Regions from separate parts of the Homo sapiens genome. Here regions 1, 2, 3 and 5 are each linked to region 4. Evidence: promoter capture Hi-C in 16 types of primary human blood cells and fetal thymus (Javierre and others, 2016). All regions are on one chromosome and are shown on one strand. Each heading gives the region's core, a stretch centred on a gene start or on the middle of the fragment in contact. The rest is flanking DNA. Distances are from core to core; before and after follow the strand shown.

Evidence for each region. The method cuts DNA at HindIII sites, captures the fragments that hold promoters and counts their contacts. A CHiCAGO score of 5 or more calls a contact.
Region 1: a fragment that was not itself captured here is called in contact with the fragment with the promoter of IL12B in region 4 in 6 of 17 cell types (megakaryocytes, M2 macrophages, total CD4 T cells and 3 more); the score reaches 10.1 in megakaryocytes.
Region 2: a contact is called between a fragment that was not itself captured here and the fragment with the promoter of IL12B in region 4, in 1 of 17 cell types (M2 macrophages). The highest score is 5.5, in M2 macrophages.
Region 3: a fragment that was not itself captured here is called in contact with the fragment with the promoter of IL12B in region 4 in 4 of 17 cell types (M1 macrophages, erythroblasts, M2 macrophages and 1 more); the score reaches 7.1 in M1 macrophages.
Region 5: a fragment that was not itself captured here is called in contact with the fragment with the promoter of IL12B in region 4 in 7 of 17 cell types (total CD4 T cells, total CD8 T cells, M0 macrophages and 4 more); the score reaches 7.2 in total CD4 T cells.

What each region holds. Positions count from the first base shown.
Region 1 is chr5:159,960,434-159,963,133 of GRCh38, reverse strand. The region is part of intron 1 of ADRA1B (adrenoceptor alpha 1B); the gene reads right to left. Among named protein-coding and RNA genes, the nearest start is that of ADRA1B, 45 kb to the right of the region's middle. The HindIII fragment of the contact is 5,552 bases long and covers 1-2,700 here.
Region 2 is chr5:159,940,367-159,943,066 of GRCh38, reverse strand. All of the region lies in intron 1 of ADRA1B (adrenoceptor alpha 1B), which reads right to left. Among named protein-coding and RNA genes, the nearest start is that of ADRA1B, 25 kb to the right of the region's middle. The HindIII fragment of the contact is 6,030 bases long and covers 1-2,700 here.
Region 3 is chr5:159,920,334-159,923,033 of GRCh38, reverse strand. The region is part of intron 1 of ADRA1B (adrenoceptor alpha 1B); the gene reads right to left. Among named protein-coding and RNA genes, the nearest start is that of ADRA1B, 5.2 kb to the right of the region's middle. The HindIII fragment of the contact is 4,619 bases long and covers 1-2,700 here.
Region 4 is chr5:159,329,186-159,331,885 of GRCh38, reverse strand. It overlaps IL12B (interleukin 12B), which reads left to right and starts at 1,399. Exons shown (of 8, transcript NM_002187.3): 1 at 1,399-1,454. It overlaps IL12B-AS1 (IL12B antisense RNA 1), which reads right to left and starts at 368. Exons shown (of 5, transcript NR_037889.1): 1 at 1-368. The HindIII fragment of the contact is 5,320 bases long and covers 1-2,700 here.
Region 5 is chr5:159,998,671-160,001,370 of GRCh38, reverse strand. No RefSeq gene overlaps it. Among named protein-coding and RNA genes, the nearest start is that of TTC1, 9.1 kb to the left of the region's middle. RefSeq lists a silencer at 158-358. The HindIII fragment of the contact is 2,123 bases long and covers 286-2,408 here.

The DNA.
Region 1 (2,700 bases), core at 187-2,686, 630 kb before region 4:
TGTTCTCCATGAACACAAATTCCTTCTGTAACTGGGGAAAATCCAATGAATGTTATCTAAAAGCTAAAAGGCCAGGTGCAATGGCTCATGGCTATAATCCTAGGACTTTGGAAGGCTGAAGCAGGAGGATCGCACGAGTCCAGGAGTTTGAGAACAACCTGGGCAACATAGACGTTGTTTCAAAAAAAAAAAAAAAAAGAAAAGAAAAGAAAAAGAAAGAAAGAAAGAAAAGAAAAAGAAATAAAAGCTAAAAACCAAACAAGCCAAAAAGTAAAAAAAAAAAAAAAAAAAAAAAATAGCCAGGTGTGGTGGCCCCCACACCTGTGGACCAGCTACTCGGGAGGCTGAGGTGGGAGGATTGCTTGAGCTCAGGAGGTTGAGGCTGAAGTGAGCTATGATCGCATCACTGCATTCCAGGCTGGGCAATAGAGCGAGACCTTGTCTCAAAAAAAAAAAAAAAAAAAGCTGAAAAACAAGCCAAAAGATGCTGTGCGTATTGGGTCCTTGTTATGTGCCGCCAACTTTTTTAGCTCCTGTTTCATTTAATCCTGACAACAGCTCCCTGAGCAGGGTGGGATTATCCCTATTTTACAGATGAAGAAATGGGTAGACGGCAGCACCAGTGCGAGGTCCCTCACAGGTGAGAGACAGGTTTAAAATGAAATGAGATGATTTGAGAGATTTGAAATGAAAATGAAACCTGATGATTTGAGAGGTTTGAAATGAAATCAGACGGATGGCAGCACCACTCAGACAGATGGCAGCACCAGTCTGAGGTCCCTGAGAAAGACAGTTTTTAAATGAAATCTTTTGTTATTAAGCCCCCAGCAGCCCCCTCGTTAGTTCCTGATGTGCCTGTGGTCCCCTGTCCCTATCTCCTTACTGTGGGGCATAAATGGAGGAATCTTTTTATTCTTTACATATTCTTTTTTCTTTGAGACAGGGTCTCACTCTGTTGCCCAGGCTGGAGCACAGTGGTGCAATCTCGGCTCACTGCAACTTCTACCTCCCAGGTTCAAGTGATTCTCCTGCTTCAGCTTCCCGAGTAGCTGGGACTATAGTGCATGTCATCACGCATGGCTAATTTTTGTATTTTTTGATAGAGACAGGATTTCATCATGTTGACCAGACTGGTCTTGAACTCCTAACCTCGCCTCGGCCTCCCAAAGCGCTGACTTTACATATTCTTAAATCCATTGGCCTTCACTCAATATTGGCTGAAGAAATGAGGCAATGAGCAGGCTCAGAGACTGCAGTGTGGCGTGGGGACCTAAAGCATCATTTATCTGGTCTACAAAATGCCAGCCATGGGCTGGGTGGTTTCTAACATCCCTCTGGGCCCTGACATTCTGGGACTCTGGGATTATAAATTTGATTTGATTTATTTCACAGTCAGTGTCAAACAAGCCAATGACCTCAGGGGAGTCAGTGGGTGGAGAAACTGTTTTGATCCTCTTGTAAATGGAGTGGAACTCCTTTGCAGTGTGGCTCTTATTAGGGGCATTTGGCTACACCGTCAGGCAAACCACATCTCCTCAGCTGAAACAATTTGGTCCAGTAAAAACTGGAAAAATTTACAATAATATGCTGCTTCTGTCAGCACCAGCTTTGTAAAAGAAGGTTTCCTTGGATTTGGAAATTCCCTTCAAGGTTTTTCCATTTTTATTTGCCACTTAACCCTGGAATGAGATCATAAACTTGTCCAGTGAATACAATATCTTTGGGCCAATAGAGCCATGTTAAGTTTTAAAACAAATGCTGAAAACAATAATAACCACAGCCACCTTTTGCAACAACTCCATTCCAAAACCAGTTATTAAGGTACCACATTTACAAACATTCTCTATTGTAATTCTCCAACAGCCCTGCTACTATGTATTTCATTTTGCAGAGGAGGAAATTAAGGCTTAAGAGGTTAACAAGGTCACATGCCTAGTATGTGGTGGACTCTAATTAAAATCCAATTTTGAAGTGTGGGTTTTTACTCGTTTAATAATAAGGAAAAGGAGCATTTATTCATTTCCTTAAACACTAGGGAATTTCTCCCTTAACTGGGAATGCTGAATTGTCAAAGCACTTTTTCTGAAACTAAAATGTGGCATTTGTCCCTTTGAACCTTGGATTACAATTGCTTAGGTCTATATTCTCATCTCCTCTGATTAGACTGTGAATGACTAGAAAAGAGGGTTCATGTCTGACTCTTCTCTCTGTGCCCAAGGCCTACCTAGCACAGTGCCTGACACGTGAAAGGCACTCAGCCAGCAGGTGTTGCATGAATAATAGTGATAAAAATAATAAAACCAAAATGCATTAGCCTCTGGCTATGCAAAATGAGGTTCATGGATAAGCAGCACCTGAGTGCTGGTTAGAAATGCAGAATCTCTGATCCAGTGCATCAGAATCTGCTTTTTTTTTTTTTTTTTTTAAGAGCTGGGGTCTTTCTGTATTGCCCAGGCTGGATCTGAACTTGCTATGTTGCCCAGGCCAGACTGGCCTTGATTGCTGGGTTCAAGTGATCCTCCTGCTTCAGCCTCCTGAGTAGTTGGAACTACAGGCAGGTGTCCCCATGTTCAGTTCAAAATCTACTTTTTAACAAGATCCTGAGGTGAGAAGTATTGCCTTAGCCCGCATTACAATTTTACTTTTAAGAACTATTTTTGTGTGTATCTTGGGATTCATGGGTGAGCACAGGCTGGGCTG
Region 2 (2,700 bases), core at 105-2,604, 610 kb before region 4:
CTAATTTTTGTATTTTTAGTAGAGACGGGGTTTCACCATGTTGGCCAGACTGGTCTCGAACTCCTGACCTCAGGTGATCCTCCCACCTTGGCCTCCCAAAGATGATCTAATTTATGTTTTTATTTTAATAAAGAAAGCATTACAAATTATTAATTACACATGTAATAAATGAATACTTTTTCTTTTAAAAATTAAGAACAATTTTTTTTGACTACCATCCCTAATTTCGTATCCCTACTTTATGGGGAACTATTTTCATCTTTTTGGTGTATTACCTTCCAGTTTTTTTCTATGTATTTCCATACACATACTCATAGAAAATAGAATATTTGGGATTTAAAAAATGTAACATTTCATACTATATGCAATGCTCTGAAACTTGTTTCTCCCCCCAACAATTTGTCTTTTTTGTGTGTTTGTAGAGATGAGGGTCTCACTGTGTTGCCCAGGCTGCTCTGGAACTCCTGGGCTCAAGTGTTCCTCCCGCCTTAGCCTCCCAGAGTGGTGGGATTACAGGTGTGGCCAGCCAACAATTTATCTTAAAGATCTTTCTTAATTAGTATCCAGATCTAATTCATTCCTTCTAACTGCTGTATCACAGTCCACTGTATGAATGTGTGAGAGTTTATTTCCTTACCTGCTTACGGATAGACTTTTAGGTTGTTTCCCAATTAGAACAGTACTTTTTTTACAAAAAGTCATATTGAGCTATATAATTCCCATACCATAAATTTACCCTTTTAAGTGTACAATTTAGCGGTTTTTAGTAATTCACAAAGTTGTACACCAACCCCACTATCTAATTACAGGACAATTTCATCACCCCCTAAAAAAACCCAGTACCCGGCCGGCCATGGCGGCTCACGCCTGTAATCCCAGCACTTTGGGAGGCCGAGGCGGGCGGATCACGAGGTCAGGAGATCAAGACCATCCTGGCTAACACCGTGAAACCCCATCTCTACTAAAAATACAAAAAATTAGCTGGGCGTGGTGGCGGGCACCTGTAGTCCCAACTACTCGGGAGGCTGAGGCAGTAGAATGATGTCAACCTGGGAGTTGGAGCTTGCAGTGAGCCAAGATCGCGCCACTGCACTCTAGCCTGGGTGACAGAGCGAGACTCTGTCTCAAAAAAAAAAAAAAAAAAAAAGAAACCCAGTACCCATTAGCAGTCATCTCATTTCCCCTTCTCCTCAGTCTCTGCGAACACTCATCTACTTTCTCTCTCTGTGCATTTGCCTATTTTGGACATTTTGTTTTAATAGAATTATATGACAAAATGTGAACTTTTGTGTTTGGCTTCTTTCCCTTAGCGTATCGGTTTCAAGGTTCATCTGTGTGGTAGCATGTGTCCATACTTTGTTCTCTTTTCTTTGGCCAAATAACATTCCATTGTATGGATATACCACATTTTGCATATCTGTTCTTCAGCAGATGGACATTTGAGTTATTTCCTTCTTTCGGCCATTATGAATAATGCTGCTGTGAACATCTGTGTGCAAGTTTTTGTGTGAGGACATGTTTCCAATTCTCTCCTGTGTATACTAGGAGTCGGACTGCTGGGTCATTAGGCAACCCTTTGTTTAACTTTTGAGGAACTACCAAACTGTTTTTCAAAGTGGCTGTGCCCTTCTACATTGCCATAAATGTGAGTTTTTAGAACAAGAACAAGGAAGAACATGTTCGTGGGCCAAATGGATGTGTTTATTCTTGAGACATCTCAGCCATATTTGGAACAAGCTGAAAAACACCTCAGCACTGTCCAGCAGAACTTTCTGTGATGATGAAAACGTTCTAAATCTGTGCAGTCCAATATGGCAGTCACTAGCCACACGTAGCTGTTTAACACTTGCAAGGTGACTCCTGTGGCCAAGGAACTGCATTTTTAATTTTAATTAATTTAAATATGATTACACTCATGTGTCCAGTGGCTACTGTATCTGATAGCACAGTACTTATTCTCTCCTGTGTGTAAAGACTGACAGTACCCAAGAGGTCCCCATAAAGTTATCGGAGAAGTGATCCACCTTCTAGGATGCACCTTGCAACTCCAAGTTAGCTCTTGTCACAGACAACACAGAGAAGAAATTCAGAGATTGTGATGCGTTAAATCAGAATTGTACCACATTGAAATTCAGGTAACTCCCAACTTTTGCAGAGTTATGCTTGGAAAGCTGGCATTTCATGTATCTCCTTTTAGCTCACCAGTTTAAAGAACTGTCTTTGTATTGTTTTGTTTCTTTGTACAAGAGCAATTCATGCTCACTACAGAGAAGCAGGAAAAGAAAATAAAAACTACCACAGATAATTGCTGCTAAAATCTTGAGGGGGAGTGTGTGTGTATGTGTAAGTGTGTGTATATGCATGTGTGTGTATGCATTTGTGTGTGTGTATATATACTGTTAAAGAAAATGTTATTTAATGATCCTTCTTAAAGCACAGTAAAGAAGACTTTATTTAGAACCATTGAGACAGGTATAGGAACTACTGCAATGGGCTGTGCAGTGGGGGAGACAAACTGGGCTCAACTATGAATATAGAATAAGCAAGAGGGAATTTATGGCCAAGGAGCAGGGTTGGGGGCAGTGGATGGAAAATTACTAAGAGAAAACATCAGGAGTAAGGGTGATTCTGGCTAAACCGAACTAACAGGGTTCTTGCTGAAGGCAGGCCAGGGTAATCACATGTCACTTGGAGGGGGGA
Region 3 (2,700 bases), core at 198-2,697, 590 kb before region 4:
TTAGCTTCTCCAAACCGTTGAGGGTTCCACTTAAATGTCACTGCCTCAGGGACCTATGATGTACTAACCCCTGTTTTAGAATTCTAGCAGCATCACACTCCTTTTCTTCAAGTCACTTGTTGCAGTTTATGTTCATGTTTGTTTGTGCATGTGTGTTTTTCAACATCTCTGTGTTCCCTACTAGAGCCAAATTCTATGAAATATAAGTATTTCGCTCACCATTATATCGTCAGTATAATGCCTGGACACAGTACCCACTGAATAGATACATATTTATTCAGTGAATGGATGAATGATTAAAGATGTGAACCCACATCACTAGAAGGGCAAGGTCCCTCCCACTTTTTCTTTTGGTTGGGGTGGCTGACAAAATGCCCAATCCTGAGAGACCCTTGTCATACACAGTACAGGAGAACATCGAGCCCTGAGCTAGAACATGGATGACCTGCCCTGATATGTCATAGGTTGGTTATTTTTTCAGAAGTGAGCAGGCAGTGGAAGAAAGGCAGATTTTGCAACAGAAGCATCATTACTAGTTCTTGACAGGGTGGTTCTGGGTTTCCTGGAGTACATGTGCTATGAAAACAGGTTGCTATCAGACAGCAAAAGGGCCAGACATTTCCTTGGTGTGCTGGAACAGGTATGGGTCTGTTCTGACGGACTTGGATTCAACTTTTGGCCCTATCACTTACTTGATGTGTGACCTTGGACCAGAAGTTTTACCTCTCTGAGCTTCAGTATATTCATCCATAAAAAGGGAGCAGTTACTTTTGCCTGTTAGAGTAGCTGTGAGGATTAATGAGATAACGTCTGTAGGAGGCCTAGCAGAATGTCTGGTACATGGTATGTATCCAATAACAAATACAATCTCACCAGGCTGTAAGCCTTCTTCAATCAGGGGCCATGTTTGTTTTTGGCTTGATAACCCAGTGTCTGGTACAGTGCCTGGCATGTAGTAGATGCTTTAGGAAGTCCTTATTAGTGATTTAATACATGGTCAAATGGGTTTTACTTTAGTAGGATTTCCCTCTTCCAGGAAGGATTCCCGTGTGTAAAAACTTCCCCCTTGCCAAGTACTCAAACCAATTGATTTATTTGTGGGCAACTCAAATCCCTGTGTTTTGAAATCTCAGAGCTGGAAGATTAATGTGTGTTTGTCGGGGTGGCTCTGTCTTGAGTCATCTCTGAGAACCTTGTGCTTGTGGAAGGTAGAAATTCGTCAGCCCCCATTTGAATGAAAGGGCTGGAGGATCAAATCAATGGAGAGAGGGATTTCTATTTTGTTCCAATACTATGGAGAACAAAACTGTTTCTTTGAAATTGACCTTCATTTATTTGGAGGGGAAAGCAGTTAGTTCAATAATGGCTTCCTGGTGCCTTCCAGCATTTTAAAAGACAGAAGAAAGATTTGGAGCAAGGCAAGGTTCCAGTGTTTTCTAAACAACTCACTAAGCCCAGCTACTGGTTGGCTGCGGAGCACTTCCTGCTACCGGCCCTGCATCCCCCAATTTCCCCCACTGCTGCAATGCACATCCTCAATAGCTCAGCCACTTCTTGAGACCCTGACAAGGCCTTCCCTAGGTGGGCTGGAAGTTAGCCTTCATTTTAATGCTGGGCAGCTGAAGATTCTCTGACATCTTGCAAATGGCTCATGGAGTAAGAAATACTGCTATATTCTATTCCAATTATTTCCTGTCCCTCCCTGGCCTGATTCCAGGGGCCAAATAAAGAGGTCCTTGTTTGGTGGAGTCCATTCCTGCTCCTGAGTAAGTGAGCACTGGTCCCTGGTCCAACTTGGTCTGAGGCCACAGGGAAAGGGTGGGGAGGACATTGGAGAGGATGTCCCAGGTGGGGAGAGCTCTGGAGGAGACAAGAGGCCCTGCTCTGCAGGCAGCCCAACCCTGCTTCCAGAAATAAAAATAAGAGATGAAGGAAAACAAATGGGGCCCCTGAACAGGATCCTGTAGGGGGCACAGCTATTTTCCCTCTTTCCCAGGAGAGATCCCAACCCTTCTCTCCCACGGAGAAAACAAACACAGCTATGGAAATCTTGTGCCATCCTGGCACCTGAAAGTCTATCACCAATTGGAAGTTGCTCCTACCTGCACTTCTCCCTTTGCCAAACACAGTCCTCCCCCACATCTGCTTCCTCCCCTTATGAGTGAAAAAGTTTTCACGGAAAATTTAGAATTTGGAACCTTCTTCAGATTCCAAAGAAGTTATTGTTCTATATCATGCTGCTTTTGCTTGGGTGTTATTTCAACTCAGAGAAAGTAGAAACTCACATCTCTATTTTGCTGGAATGCTCTTCCTGAATCATTAAGAAAACAGTAATTAAGTACCTTCTTTGTTTGAAGCTCTTGAGTACTTTTTGAAGCCCATCTCAAACTCAAGTCCTAGAGTCCACATTCCCCACATTATCTGTTAGGTTTTCAGGGAAGAAGGATGTTGATGGGGTCGGCTCAGGGACAAATCACTGGAAGATCTCTGGGAGATCGTCGCATGATAGTCGGAAAGTTTTCATCGCAAGGAGAAGAGAAACAAGATAGCATCAAGGTGGCAAGAACCTCTCACTTTTTATTGTGTGGAAGCTCAGGACCTGAGATGCTAGGGGGACAAAGTCTCAGAAAGGCACAGACAGAAAGGAGAGAGACGATGGGGGTAATGTGAGTAAGAAGAAAGTGAGGGTGGGCTTGATGA
Region 4 (2,700 bases), core at 150-2,649:
CAAGGTCGGATAACCAGTGGGCCTGCCGGCTTGGCTGCCTGGGCCCTCCCCTGCCGAGACAAACGGCTGGAGGGAGGAAGTGTGCGGCTGGGAAGCTCCGCTGCTCTGGCCCGGGTTTCCCATTTCCCCCTTCCCGCGCTGAGACGGCGAGGAAAGTTAGCCCGGAAATCTGCGCCCGCCTAAAACCCGGCCTGGTCCCAGCCACCGCCCCAGGAACTTCCCCCACCGCAGGGGCGGAGGTCGAGAGCAGGGATGGAGAAGTGGACCTGCGCGGGTGGACTCCGGGGCGCGGGTGGACTCCGGGGCGCGGGGGGACTCCGAGGAGCGGGTGGACTGTGGGGCGCGGGTACCGTCTCGCAGCGACCTCTGTCGGCGGCTCTGGGGATGGCCCGCATCTGTCTGCGTGTACCTGGTATACGTGCAGGTACATGTTCCTGTTCACGTGCAGACTGGGCGGGGGATGGGGGGGTCCACACCGGTGTACACCTTTGCATACCTCTTAGCAACTTGAAATTCCACCACGAGAGATATCTTTATTCCGCTATTCCTGTGCATCTGCACGGAGCCCCTAGGGCCATAGATTTGTGTGCAAATGAAATGAGGATGTAGTCTGGGTGCCCAAGGGGGGGTGCCTTGAGTGTGGTTGTCTGTATGCCTCCCTGAGGGTATTTCACTTTCTGCTCCCATCCGCCCCTATGAGCGAGTACCTATGAGCACAGGATGTGCACATATTTGAGTCTTATTAGTGGTACACGCAGTTTTATCATCTCCCCAGGTCTGTGTCTGTATGAAATGTGCATGGGTGTGTGTGTGCACGCGTGTGTTCCCACTCGGGGAATGTGGGGAGAGGTGCATGGAGCCAAGATGGGTGGTAAATAGTATGTTTCTGAAATTAAAGGACTAATGTGGAGGAAGGCGCCCCAGATGTACTAAACCCTTTGCCCTTCATCTCATCCTCTCTGACTTGGGAAGAACCAGGATTTTGTTTTTAAGCCCTTGGGCATACAGTTGTTCCATCCCGACATGAACTCAGCCTCCCGTCTGACCGCCCCTTGGCCTTCCTTCTTCCTCGATCTGTGGAACCCAGGGAATCTGCCTAGTGCTGTCTCCAAGCACCTTGGCCATGATGTAAACCCAGAGAAATTAGCATCTCCATCTCCTTCCTTATTCCCCACCCAAAAGTCATTTCCTCTTAGTTCATTACCTGGGATTTTGATGTCTATGTTCCCTCCTCGTTATTGATACACACACAGAGAGAGACAAACAAAAAAGGAACTTCTTGAAATTCCCCCAGAAGGTTTTGAGAGTTGTTTTCAATGTTGCAACAAGTCAGTTTCTAGTTTAAGTTTCCATCAGAAAGGAGTAGAGTATATAAGTTCCAGTACCAGCAACAGCAGCAGAAGAAACAACATCTGTTTCAGGGCCATTGGACTCTCCGTCCTGCCCAGAGCAAGGTAAGCACTTCCCAAGCCCCTACCTCCCTCCCCTCCCTGTGGGCCTGCAGCTGTCCAGGTGTAGAAACCGTTAGTGTGCTACCCCAGCAGCTGGCAGGAGGGAGTTGGTGGATTCCTGGAAGCATCCCTGGTGAGTCATCTGCTGGAACATTAGTGAAAACTTAGTACTCTAGGGACCGATGTACAGTGTCCATTTTAAAAGCCACCTAATAATAACTGTATAGCAAGATCTGTGTGTATGCATAGTTTGTGGAAATGTTTGTTTTATCTTATTTTGAAGTGGTGTGTATTGATGTATAAAAGTATATTCCTAAATGTTAATGCCCATCAGTTAAAGGATTGTATAGAGCTAAAGTGAGTGGTGCCTGCCTTACTATTGAAATTTTTAAAAAGCCTTTCGTGCATTCCTTAAAGTAATTGGATTCATAATTATAATAATGTTACAAATCAGACTTGCTCCCATATTTGTGATGGTCTTGGTCGTCAGTTGTGATATCAACCAAAATGACAGCTGGGATCCCCATTCTTGTGGATTAACTAACTTTGGCCCCAGTTAAAAAATGAAAAGCTATTATTGCTTCCTAAAGAGTTTTTAAATCTGTGAGAAGGGGGAAAAAAAGGTTTTTTTACTTGCCCAGGTAAAATTGTGTGCAACAACAATGTCATTTTAACAAAGGGATTACTAAACCCCAGGTGATGACCCACTTTTTCAAACAAGGAATTGCAAGATACTAGATGGAATGTGGGTAACCTCTTAGAGTTTAGTTTACTGGAATCTGAAATTGTATGATTTCCGTACATTCCTTCATGCTACTAATAAGTCATGGAATCCCTCTGTGCTGGACTCTGGGGGTAAAGTGCAAAACAAGATAGACATGATCCATGGCATAAGAGAGTTCACTCAGTGTGGCAGAGAAGACAAACAGTAAAGAAGAGACTGTATTGTTGCCATTGTAGTAAATGCTGTGGAAGGAGGGGAGCAAATAGTGGGTCCTGACTTCATCTAGGCACCATGACACTTCACGTGAATTATGTCACTAACTCCTTACCACAGTAGCATGCCCATTTTATAGATCAGGAGTGTGGGGCTTAAAGGGGCCAAGTGACTCACCCAGAGTCACACAGTTCTAGAAGTCTGCCTGGCCCTCAAACTAGGGATCTTTGCATGTGCCACCCATGCCATCTGTGACTATATCTTTTTATTCTTTAATAATAACTCCCTTTTCTAATTAAAGGTAACAAACAA
Region 5 (2,700 bases), core at 98-2,597, 670 kb before region 4:
AAAGAGGATGACTCTACCCTCCACCACTCCAGTTATCCACAACTGCTCAAACGCCGTTGTCACACAAAAGCAGCCATGCACACCACATAAATGAACAAGAATGCCTGTGTTCCAATAAAACTTTATTTATAAAAGCAGGCATCAGGGGGGACTTGGCCTGTGGTCTGTAATGTGCTGACTCCTGTTTTAGAGATGAACTGTGATATCAGACTGGCCAAGACTGAATCCCAGCTCTGCTCCAACAAGTCCTATCACCTTGGACGAGCTCCTTAACTTAAGTAAGCTTCAGATTCCCTATTCGTAACATGGAGACAATGACAGTATTTTCATCCCAGGGCTACTGGGATGCATAAGAGAATTAACATATGTAGAATACTCAGAGCCTGTCTTTTAAAAAGTAACAGCTGGGTGTGGTGGCACATGCCTGTAATCCCAGCTACTCAGGAGGCTGAGGCGGGAGGATCACTTGAACCCAGGAGTTCAAGGCTGCAGTGAGCCATGATTGAGCCACTGCACTCCAGCCTGGACAACAGAGTAAGACCCTGTGTAAGGAAAATGAAAATAAGTGATCCACATGCCTCAGCCTCCCAAAGTGCTGGGATTACAGGTGTGAGCCACTTCCCCCAGCATAATCAGTTGATTTTTTAAAAAATACATATAAAAGTGGACTTTTCAGGACGGGATGGTGGCTCGTGCCTGTAATCCCAGCACTTTGGGAGGCCGATGCGGGCAAATCACTTGAGGCCAGGAATTTGAGACCAGCCTGGCCAACATGGTAAAATCCCATCTCCACTAAAAATATGAAAATTAGCTGGGTGTGTTGGCAGGCGTATGTAATCTCAGCTACTCGGGAGGCTGAGGCAAGAGACTTGCTTCAACCTGGGAAGTGGAGGTTTCAGTGAGCCAAGATTGCACCATTGCAGTCCAGCCTGGGTGACAGAGAGACGCTCTGTCTCAAAAAAAAAAAAAAAAAAAAAATGGGCTTTTCTTTTTTCTTTTTTAGTAGCATAGAAATTTCCTCAAGCCTGACTTTTAGCGGCATTATTTATATGACTCAAACCCCAACATCATCCTGAAATTCTCTTGAAGCGAGAAAAAAAAAAAGAATAGCTTCCAGTGTGCAAATCAAACATCCTCCCCAACATAAATATCTCAGACTATTTCCATAAATATTTGGAGAAACTGATCAAAATAGTAGCTTGTTTAGGAACTATCTTGCTTGTCCATGTAGACTACTTCACTCACAGTACCCTGTGTCTTTTAGTTAAAGACTATGAAAGCATTCAGCAGTACTTCAAACATAATTTGAAGTACTTTCTTAAACATAATTTAACAAATAAGATATTCATAGCCTGGGCATGGTGGCTCGTCCCTCTAATCCCAGCAGTTTTGGAGGCTGAGGTGGGAGGATCACTTGAGGCCAGGAGTTCAAGACAAGCCTGGGCAACATAGACCCCATCTTTACAAAAAATGAAAAATTGGCCAAGTGTGGAGGCATGTGCCTGGAGTCCCAGTTACTTGGGTGGCTGAGGTGGGTGGATCACTTGAGCCCAGGAGATTGAAGTTGCAGTGAGCTTTTGATGTGGTTTGGATCTGTGTCCCCACCTAAATCTCGTGTTGAAGTGTAATCTCCAGTGCTGGTGGTGGGTCCTGATAGGAGGTGATTGGATCATGGGGTCAGTTTCTCATGGTTTAACACCATCTCCCCTTGGTGTTGTGGTCACAATAGTAAGTTCTCGTGAGATCTGCTTCTTTAAAAGTGTGTGGCATACCCACGTTTTTTTTTTTTAATGGCAAATCCACACTGTCAGATAAGGCCCATGGCCTTTCTAGTGTTTTCCTGCACTGTCCTTAAAATGTGACCATAATGTCCCTCTTTCAGGCAGGAAGAAATGTGACAAAGATAAAAGGCATATACAGGGCCAGGTGTGGTGACTCACACCTGTAATCCCAACCACTCAGGAGACCAGGGTGGGAGGGTTGCTTGAGCCTAGGAGTTTGAGACCAGCCTGGGCAACATAGCAAGATCCCCTGCTACAAAGGTAGAGGGTGTAAGGTATTTCTTTATAGCAGTACAAGAACGGATTAATACAGCTGTGTTCACACCACTGTACCCCAGCCTGGGTGACAGAGTAAGACTCTGTCCTAAAAACAAACAAACAAACAAACAAAATATATTTGTAGATCTTTACTTGGCTATTTGAAACATTAATTATGGCTACCTAAGCTGACTTTTAGATGAATATTTAATAAGTATTCACAGATATCCAAAGACACAGATTATGAACAAGACAAACCAACCTTCCTTATTTTTCTGTCCTTTGTCCATTTATCCCGGTTTAGAAGTTGTAGACAAAATGAACTGTGTTTGATCTATAACTTAAAATCACAGTACATTGACTCAAGCTTTTCAAAGAGCCTAAGATAATTGGAGCTACAAGACCCATTGGCGAAATCTCATTTTATCTTCTATTTTCGTAAGTAGTTCCATCCAAGTGCACTTAAGATGCAGTTCCCCCTTTATTATTGAATTTTATATGAATTCAGCCCTAAACTGGCACTAAAAAGATAATATATGGTTGTAGCAGGACACTTACATGGAAGTGACAGAAAAACATCAGCGTCTCTGGGAAATAGGTCTCAAGTTGAAGAATATAGTAAGACTCAACATTCACTCAGCACTACAGAAGCCGATCCTGT